Regions from separate parts of the Homo sapiens genome. Here region 1 is linked to region 2. Evidence: promoter capture Hi-C in human tissues and cell types (Jung and others, 2019). All regions are on one chromosome and are shown on one strand. Each heading gives the region's core, a stretch centred on a gene start or on the middle of the fragment in contact. The rest is flanking DNA. Distances are from core to core; before and after follow the strand shown. Region 1 holds the start of TMEM63C (transmembrane protein 63C). Region 2 holds the start of ZDHHC22 (zDHHC palmitoyltransferase 22).

Region 1 (5,215 bases), core at 2,092-4,591, 37 kb before region 2:
CCCTGGGCCTCAGTTTCCCCAGGGCCTTCATCCAAACACAACGTTCCTCTCTCAAGGCCAGGGCGAGTAGGGAGGCAAGAGCCTTTCTTTGGAAGCACATGGGGAAAGGGTGGCATTGTTCCCCTGGGGGCCCAGGAGCCCAGCCCGCCAGGCAGCAGCGCAGCAGTGACGTTGTCATAACCCATAACGGCGGAGCAGACTGCCCCCTCCCGTCCCAGCCCAGAGAGTGGGCGGCAGAGCCCCGGGGAATCCCTGGGTGGGGGAGAGGGTAGCCCCGAGCGGTAACTCCCACCTGGCTGTCAGGCAGGAGGCCGGGGACCCCCCAAGCAAACCTCCTACCCACCTCCGTTCCCCCAACCCAGTGAAGACCGGTCTACTAAAGCCACGCCCTCCCGGGTGGGCGGCTCAGGCCACCCTTTCCTGGGTACAAGCTAGAGACAGCCAGCGTGGCAAGGGACTGTGGCGCAGTCTCCCCTACCCCCATCCCTCCCAATGCAAGGTCTCAGAAAGCACAGAAACAAGCAATCCTTCCCCGCCCCCTCCCCGTGCGGGACCTGGATCCGGCGCCCCTTCTTCCCGGCCCGACCAGCCCCGGTCACCGCACCCGCATCGCGTGCTCACCACATTTGCGTCCTCAGCACCGCGGCCCCAGCCCCAGGCTCGGCGCTCAGGCCGCCAGGCTGCAGTGACAGGCTCCACGCTCCCCACCTGGGAGGAGACTGCCAGCGGGTCCTCCTCCTCGCCGGCTGGGCGAAGCCAGCCCCACCTGGCAAGGGACTGTCAGCAAATTCCTCTCTGCATCACTGTGAGAGAGGCATCCCGGCTCCTCCCAAGCAGGGGCCAACCTTGGCCCCGCCCCAAAGCTTCTCTGACCTGCCGGGGAACCCAGGCTGGCAGATCCTACGCGAAGACCCAGGCTCCGCCTCAGAGACCCTGTCGCTACCAGGAACCATCTGCAAATTACTATCTCAAACACACAAGGCTGCCGGTCCCTGGTTCCAGCTTGCTCCAGCTGCCCTGATGCATTGGGCCTTGGCAGCTCCTTTGCCACCTCCCCTCGCCCTCCCTGAGGCATGTCGCCTTTCCCAGTCTCCTTAGTCCCATCAGCCAGAAGCAAGAAAAGCCACTCCACTCCCACAAAGATAGCCCTCTGCCCCGCCCAAGGACCAGGTCCTGGCACCAGCCTAGTGGCTGGTACCCAGCTGCTACCCAGACTCCTTCTACAGCAAAGGAGTGATCTACAATTGGCCACAGCCCCACCAGGGAGGGCCAAGGGAGTGAGCTGGGTCATTTCCGGTTTGCGGTGGGCCACAATCCTGCAGGTATCAGAGTTTCATCAAAGTCCTGCCCACTCTGCTATAGACACTGGTTTTGACCCCGAGGACAGGTGCCAGTGTTTGCAACCCCCAAAGACCAGTGTGCAAAACAAGGGGCAGTAGTAAACAGCCTCTCCCTCCCAGGCAGGGGCCTAGGCACATTTATGTCATCGACATTATCTGGCACTTGCAGTACAATAGCTGATGGGAAAGAAGCCACTGCCCAATGCTCTCTGAAAGTGACTCCCTTTCACCAGTTAGGGCTGTTAACAATATGATAAGAATGCCATAGAGGAAGCCCTGTGAACACAAGGTCATGAGGTGCCAGAGGAGGGGGTCAAAGGCTGGTTATGCTTTCATGGGTTGATTTCCCCATAACCAGCAGCACAGCACCCCCTTCCACACAACCGTATCAGGCTGGCGCACTCTAGTCATCTCCCTCTTCCCCTGACCCCCTGGTTCTCATGACCCAACCACCCCACGAAGACCCAAGGGTGAGCCACATAGACAGACTCTGTCGAAGTCTATCCATTATCCACTCACTCGCCCAGGCTGGAGTGCAGTGGTGTGATCTCGGCTCACTGCAAGCTCCGCCTCCCAGGTTCACGCCATTCTCCTGCCTCAGCCTCCCGAGTAGCTGGGACTACAAGCTCCCGCCACCACGCCCGGATAATTTTTTTTTTTTGTATTTTTTAGTAGAGACGGGGTTTCACCGCGTTAGCCAGAATTGTCTCGATCTCCTGACCTCGTGATTCGCCCGCCTCAGCCTCCCAAAGTGCTGGGATTACAGGCGTGAGCCACCGCGCCGGCCCACTCATTATCTTTTTCATTCACGGGACGGGAAGACTTTTGAACACGTATTCTGCAGTGGCAACAGGGCATCAGGGTCTAGGTTCCAGCCCTTGCTTAGCGGCTATCATGCTGTGCAACCTTGGGTAGCTCACTTGATCTCTCTTTGTTTTTCCCTCTCATCTGTAATTCTGAGAGGGCTGGGCTAGTTGAGGTCTCACACCCCTCTGCTCTGACACCTTTATTCTCTTCTAGGATAAAGGCTGGCGGGTACAAAGACAAATCAGATCAATACAAGAATAGTGCTGGGAACGCTAGCTGCCTGCATTTCAGTCCCAGCTGGGCCACCTAAATGTGGGACTTAACCTCTCTGTGCTTTTTTTTTTTTTTGGCATATGGAAAATGGGGGAAAACAATAATCATAAGCTTAAAGGGTGATTGTGAGGATTAAATGAAATACCATGTACAAAATAAATGCTCTGCAAATATTCATTGTTGTTGCTGTAGTTATGCTATTCACAGTCTGGTGGGACAGCATAAATTCTCAACAAAAGCAGTTCGTCTTTTCCTTCTCTGCTTCATCATCACAGAAGCTGTTGTAAGCCCATATCCAACCCACTCCACCTCCTAGAGGAGAAACCTGATAAGCATCAAGGTCATGCCGTAAAGAGAGGCCAGGTGTGGTGGCTCACGCCTATAATCCTAACAGTTTGGGAGGCTGAGGCGGGCAGATGACTTGAGGTTGGGAGTTCGAGACCAGCCTGGCCAATGTGATGAAACCCAGTCTCAACCAAAAATACAAAAATTAGTCGGGGGTGGTGGCGGGCACCTGCAATCCCAGCTACTTGGGAGGCTGAGGCAGGAGAATCACTTGAACCCAGGAGACGGAGGTTGCAGTGAGCTGAGATCATACCACTGCACTCCAGCTGGGCGACAGAGTGAGACTCCGTCTTGAAAAAAAAAGAAAGATACAGTAAAGGGGGACGGAAGCCAGGTGTGGTAGCTCACACCTGTAATCCCAGCTACCTGGGAGGCTGAGGCAGGAGGACTTCTTGAGGCCAGGAGGTTGAGACAAGCCTGGGCAATATAGAGAGACCTACATCGGAGAGGAGAGGAGGGGAGGGGAGGGCAGGAGAGGGAAGGGGAGGGGAGGGGAGGGGAAGAGAGGAGAGGAGAAAGAAAGAAAAAGAAAGAAAGAAAGAAAGAAAGAAAGAAAGAAAGAAAGAAAGAAAGAAAGAAAGAAAGAAAGAAAAAGAAAGAAAGGAAGGAAGGAAGGAAGGAAAGAAGGAAGGAAGGGGAAGGGAAGGAAGGGAGGGAGGGAGGGAGGGAAGGGAAGGAAGGGAGGAGAACCCATGGAAGGAGGAGAACCCATGGAGATGCCAGGTGGGCTGTGTGGTGGGGAAAGAGATGACCCCAATGTCCCAACCAACCACCTAGATGAGTGTCAGCTTGTAGAAGGTTCTCAGTAAAGGTGTATGGGTATGAATAACTGAGGCTTTCAAAAGAAAGGCCCTTCTGGTCTGTGACACTGAAAACACTTATCATGCTCTCACTTGTGGATTGGGGTGGGAGTGCCTTTGGCCTGAGTTGTCAAATCTGAAAGATTATGCCTGTTATTGTCTTCATGACCGCGTTGTTAACCTCCAATGTCTGGTCTGGGAACATAATCCAGAACAATATAAAAGAAACAAAAGGACTCTGAGTAACCCTTACAGTGAGCTGAGATGGCACCACTGCACTCCAGCCTGGGCGACAGAGCGAGACTCCGTCTCAAAAGAAAAAAAAAATAGACAGAGAGAGAGGTACAGAAAAGGGGGATGGAAGCCAAGTGTGGTGGCTCACACCTGTAATCCCAGCTACTTGGGAGGCTGAGGCAGGAGGATTTCTCGAGGCCAGGAGGTTGAGACCAGCCTGGGCAATATAGAGAGATCTACATCAGAAAGGAGAGGAGAGGAGGGGAGGGGAGGGCAGGGGAGGGAAGAGGAGGGGAGGGGAAGGAAGAGGAGGGGAGGGAAGAGGAGGGGAGGGAAGAGGAGGGGAGGGAAGAGGAGGGGAGGGGAGGTGAGGGAAGAGGAGGGGAGGGGAGGGGCTTTTTCTGCAGATCACCTTGTGTCTTCAATTGGTGCCCACCTTTATTTACTCCACACAAAATTTCAATAGATCCAGTGTGGCAGAGACTGCTAAGAGCCCCTTTTCTTTCCCTCTTCCTTTTTGCAGTAGAGCTCCCAAGATTAAAACCTGGATTTATGGCTCTCCTACTATAGACCACATATCCCAGAACCCCTCGAAGCCAGGTGGAAGTATGAACTAAGTCCTAGCCAGTGAGATATGAGTGGAAGTAATAGGTTTAATTTCTGGGCCACATACTTAAAAGGAAGCTGGCTGTTCTCTACTTCCTCTTTCCTCTTTGTGAAGACTGGGATGTGGACATGGGGTGGAGGGGAGGGCAGCTTTGATGATGCTGACCAGGACAACTCCCTAGAGACAGTCAAGCATCAAGGCAGGAAGAACTTGAGTCACAAGATGACCTGGAGAAGTGCCCTACAATGTTGACCACCTTGCATTTTTCTCACGGGAGAGCAATAACCTTGTAAAGTCACTATTGTCTGGTCTCTGTTGCAGCAGCTGAACCAATAGCCTAAAGGAGAAGCCACTTTCCTGATTTTCAAAACCACAGCAGATGAGCAGGAGCATGTTAGAAGGGGAAAGGACTAATAAGAAAGCAAGCACAGTGAAAAGGGCAAAAGTCAAGAGCAAGAGAAGAGAGAACAACGATTAAAAAAAAAAAAAAAAAAAAAAAGGCCGGGCGCAGTGACTCACGCCTATAATCCCAGCATTTTGGGAGACCGGGGCGGGTGGATCACGAGGTCAGGAGATCGAGACCCTCCTGGCTAACATGGTGAAACCCTGTCTCTGCTAAAAATACAAAAAATTACCCAGGTGTGGTGGCGGGCGCCTGTAATCCCAACTACTCAGGAGGGGCTTTTCCCCTTTTGCTCAGCACTTCTCTTCCTGCTGTCATGTGAAGAAAGATGGGTTTGCTTCCCCTTCCATCGTGATTGTAAGTTTCCTGAAGCCTCCCCAGCCATGTGGAACTGAGTCAATTAAAC
Region 2 (4,985 bases), core at 1,907-4,406:
CAAAACATTTGGGGCATTATAGGCCTGACAGACATGGAGGCGGGGTTACTCACTCAAGGCAGAAGCTGCTTGCTACATGGATTTCTCTCCTTGTAATACAACACTCTGAAGCAAAGTGGAATAATTTCCACTTGAAAGGGAATTCATTTTATTCAAATAACACCACCAAATAGCAAGATTGAGGGCGCATATCTCCAGGAAAGGGCTGGACAGCAATGAGATGCTTATCTGTGCCCCTGTCCCCATGGGACTGCCTGCAGGTACAGTTATGGCTTAACTATAGGAATCTACAGCAAGAGCAATGGAGAGTGTGGTTTATAAATCATTTCTGTCACTGTTTATGGAGGATGAGATTAGAGTCAGGGTGGGTGGTGGCAGGTTGCAAGATCAATGGCAAATGTGTCCTCAGCAGATATTTCTCTTTGAGACAGAGTCTTGATCTGTCACCCAGGCTGGAGTGCAATGGCATGGTCTTGGGTCACAGCAACCTCTGCCTCCTGGGTTCAAGCGATTCTCCTGTCTCAGCCTCTTGAGTAGCTGGGATTACAGGCACTGGCCACCACGCCTGGCTAATTTTTATATTTTTAGTAGGGACGGGGTTTCCCCATGTTGGCCAGGATGGTTTCGGACTCCTGACCTCAGGTGATCTGCCTGCCTCAGCCTCCCAAAGTGCTGGGATTACAGGTGTGAGCCAATGCATCTGGCCCTCACCAGACATTTCAAAGACCTCAGAATATAGCTCTTCCTTTCACAGACAGACCAGTAGCAATTCATCGATCAAGAGACTTTTACTCAGTGTCAACTCTGGGCAAATCATCCTATTAGGAAATATGGAAGAAACCCCAAAACATTTCCAACATAGGCAAGGAGCTCTCATTTTAGTTGGAAAGTGAAGAGAGTCCTGTGGTTGAAAAGAGGAGCCCTAAAGATGTGGGAGACGCTAAGGTGCTTAAATTACATGATCCCATTTGATCATCATCACCACAAATAACAGCAGCATTCTTATTCCCATTTTACCGATGAGAATACTGAGAGCAGAGAGGTTAAATGACTAGCAGCTCATGGTCACACAGCTGGTAAATGGCAATAAAATGCTCATTCTTAGTCTGCTTGACTCTCATAGGGCCAGAATCCAAGTGAAGTTTTCATATTGATTTTGCCTCCCTATTGATTTTGTCAGGGATAAGCATAAGTTTTAGAAAAACAAAATGACATTTGCCGTGCTTCCCTTCACTCCATTCCTTAAGGGGAGCTGAGGAACCACTAGCTTTAGATCTGAAGCTGTAATGTCCTTTTCTGTTGATAAACGATATTTCTAAATAAATAATCGTCCTTGTCCATTTGTGTTTCCACGACCAGATCTCCTTTTCCTGACTGAATACTCCCTTCCCCCACTAACATCTTCCCACGTTCGCTTAGCTTCTTTCTCTCTTTCCCTTTCCTCATACACACAGATTCAGACACACACCTTCCCACCTCACACCCATATGCAAAATAAAATTAGAAATACCACCCGACTCACAAGGTATTTGGGGAATGGAGATCTTCAGTCAGTATACCCAAACCCAAGCACCCCAGCCAGCCTCCCTCCCTGCCAAGCCCATGTGAGAGGCAGACAGAGCTTGTGAAAAGGGGCCCAGACGGCCACGATTATGAGACAAAGCTGCTCTGAAGGGAAAAGGGCCATGTGTGCCTCCCCATGTCTGTCCTGTGGCCACTGGAACTCACAAGGCTACCAGCTGCTCACGGCCACCATGTGGCATATACTGTTCTTTCACTTACATGTCAGATCCTTTTAGAATGTGAAAAGGTTTCCTGGCCTCTTTTTTATTTTGATGTATGCTGATAAATTACAGAGGAAACAGTGTGTGGTTATTCAAGAATAGAGGCTGAGCTGATCAGCATATGGCCCTCATTTCAAGGGATTGCTCTTGTTTTAATCAGCCAGTTGAGAAAGCAATAAATGTTTATTTATTAAGTATGCCATCACCGAGAGGAGAGGAACAGGGCAGGTAGGTGAGCTGCGACACCCAGGAAATTGAGGATGGTGATGGCACCAATATTCCTGCAGTGTTTGATGTTTTTAAGGCTCTGCTCCCCCCACCCCCCACTGTTTGATACACATTGGTGTCACTACCCTCTTGGCGCATCACAGTACCCACCTTAGAATAGCGGAGCCCTGGAAGGGGAAGGAAATAGAAATAAGAAGGTGGGGGTGAGGCTCAAAGAAGAAGCTCCAAGTTCAAGCTCTGTGTCTGGATAAACTCCCATTGTCTTTCCTTCTCTCAAATCAGAGCTGCCCGTGGGTCCCAGGGTGATGCTGGGCTGTGTAGAGGCTGAGTGCAGGAGCATTAATGCTAGAACCAGGTTCAAGTCCAGGCTCTGTCACTTAATGGCTGTATGACCTTAGACATGAGACTTAGCTTCTCTGAGCTTCAACCTCCTCATCTCCAGAATGGGGCTCAGCCAGCTTCACAGATCAGGCTGAGAGGATTAAGGAAGCATCTTATGCTAAAGGCTTAGCACAATGCCTGCTACCTAGTAGGGGCCCGATAAGTAGTGTCTAATTATGATCTAATCAAGCAGTGCTTGCCCTGGGCAGGCCCTGTTTAAGGGTTTTACATAGATTGTCATTTAACCCTCATATCTCTATTTCACAGATGAGGAAACTGGAATCTAAGATCACACTGGAATTTACAGACGAAGAAACTGGAATCTGAGATCTCACAGTAGTGAATGGTGAATATTCAAACCCAGGTAGACAGGCTCCAGAGTCCCAACTCCCAACCCTCTGTACACAGCCCTTCCGAGGAGATGACGCTGATCTTCATGGGTGTTGCCCTGGCAAGCTGACCTCTCAAGCCCCCAGGGTTCCTTCAGTCCGAGTGGAGAGCAGGGAAGGTCGTGGGACCTAGCCGAGAGGGAAGGGCAGGATGATGGCTGGAGAATCCACATCAGGGCTGAATCCCAATCTCCCAGCTGGAACGGGCGCTGAAACCAGGCAGGGCGCCCCAGCCCGCTCAAGGGGAATCGAGAGGGGAGGAGGGGGCAAGTCCACGATGCTGAGACTGGCGGCCAGAGCACCGCCCCCAGGAGCGGAGGGAGGGGTGGCGGGGCTGGGGGGTGCCCAGCTGCCATCCCCGCCGCTTCCTGGCCCTTACTCGCTGGCGCCCAAGTGGGAAGCCAGCAGCTGCCCGCTCCCTCCTCCCCACATCCCCGCTACTTGCCCAGTTCCCGAAGCGAAGCGCAGGCTGCGAGCCAGCCGGGCCGAGTCCACAACTTTGCAGCCTCGGGCAGGGCGAGAGCCGGCGTCCGGGGCTCCTCTTGTCGGCGACCAGAGCTCGGTGAGTTGATTTCCTCACCCCTCTGCGACGGCGGCAGTGCGGCGGCGGCGGCGCGGGGGGCGGCTTCCCGTGCGTCCGGGAGGCAGTGGCCGAGAAGCCCGCGGCTGCCGGCGCTGCCGGTCTTTCCAAGGCTCCGGCTGTGCCGCCCTCTGCCGCGGGCGAGGCGGGCGCCAGGGCTGAACGGACAGCTCCCTACACCCCGGGGCCCCACGGGCGGTCTCTGCTGTCCCTTCTCCCGCGCAGGGCCAGGGCTGAGGCTGCCTGCCGAGCGCCCCTCACTCCCCTAGCCCCTGTCCTTCGCCGCCTTCCCAGCGCTGCGGCGCATCTGGCTGCTCCCGCGCCCCCCTGGCGACCGGCGCCGGGAAGGCACTTGCTTCGCCGGAGCCCCAGGCCGAGGGCTCTCTGGGGTGGGCAGCACCGCCGCAGCCCCCGGCGGCGCAGGACTGGGGGCGTGCCCAGCCCCCGGCGACCACCCTCAGGCGTGCACTGCGCTGCGCCCCAGCGGTAGGGAGAGGCCCACGCTCTCCGCGGAGGCTGCGGGTTCCCGGGGGGCGCTGGGACCTGCAAAGGGGATTCCAAGGTGACCAGTCGACCCGTGCGGACGGGACAGCCTGGACGGAGGCCCCGTGGCATCCACCCATCCTAGGTGCAACCGCCTTCCCAGAACTTTTCTCGCGCCTCCGGCTGGCCGATTCCTTAGCCCCTGGAAAAGTTCTCTCGGGCGCACGGAATCCTATTTCTCGGTGGCTTCCGAAGCTGGCCAGGAACCCCGGCTGTGAGGCGTGGGGTGGGATGGGGACGTGGTGAGGGCTGAGCACGGCGGCGGGGTCGATCCCAGGAAAGGCTGGCCAAGCATCCACTCGTGCGCCCAGGGCGGGCTTGTCGGCATGGAAAGGATTTCGGCGCCATGAGGGTTGTTTGGGTTTCTCTCAGCAGGAGGGCGGGAGGCGGGCGCGAAGGGGGGATTTTAATTTCGCCTCAAATGAAAACGCTCTTCGCAAAGAAATAGCCCGGGCAGCCAGCGTTGGAGAGATGTGCTGGCCAGGACCCGCTGACACAGGTATTCTGGTTGCGCCCCCACCTCACCCGGTGCCCGAGAGCGAGTGTGAGTGTATCGATTGTTTCAATTGATTTTTTTAAAGCTAGATAGCAGAGGCTGCGTGTCTGTACACGCAGATATATACATACACAAATACAGATACTCAAGCGCACACAGATTACACGTACAGAGTCACAGACAAGGACACACACACACACATCGTGGTCCCTCACGCACACATACCTCCAAAGAGCCTTGGGTAACCTGGTGAGGTCCCTGAGTGCTGCCCAAGATGTGTGTGTGGGTGGGGACGCAGGGACGGAGAAAGGGGAGTGTGAAGCAGGATTTCCAGCAGGTCAAGTGCCGCTGATTCTCCTGCCCCCGACCCCAAATCCTTCCCTTTCTCCTCCTAGGGAGGTCTGAACCAGAAATCCCAAACCTGGGCTTGTTTCCACATCCACAGAGGGGAGGAGTCCTATCCCCCGGTGCCCCCCACCCTCACAACTCCTAAAGACTGCAAACGAGTCCCTCCCTCCTGTGCCAGACTCTGCCGCGCCAAGGCGCCGAGCTCGCTCAAAACCCCAGGCAACACTCACCCCCAG

Evidence for each region. Contacts are between HindIII fragments. The study calls those that stand out against the background at their distance.
Region 1: a fragment that was not itself captured here is called in contact with the fragment with the promoter of ZDHHC22 in region 2 in 1 of the 25 tissues and cell types used here (dorsolateral prefrontal cortex).

The regions. Positions count from the first base shown.
Region 1 is chr14:77,177,304-77,182,518 of GRCh38, reverse strand. It overlaps TMEM63C (transmembrane protein 63C), which reads right to left and starts at 721. Exons shown (of 24, transcript NM_020431.4): 1 at 625-721. RefSeq lists an enhancer at 271-400. The HindIII fragment of the contact is 3,287 bases long and covers 1,698-4,984 here.
Region 2 is chr14:77,139,962-77,144,946 of GRCh38, reverse strand. It overlaps ZDHHC22 (zDHHC palmitoyltransferase 22), which reads left to right and starts at 3,156. Exons shown (of 3, transcript NM_174976.2): 1 at 3,156-3,344. RefSeq lists enhancers at 3,042-3,543, 3,638-4,201, 4,202-4,765, 4,903-4,985. The HindIII fragment of the contact is 26,670 bases long and covers 1-4,985 here.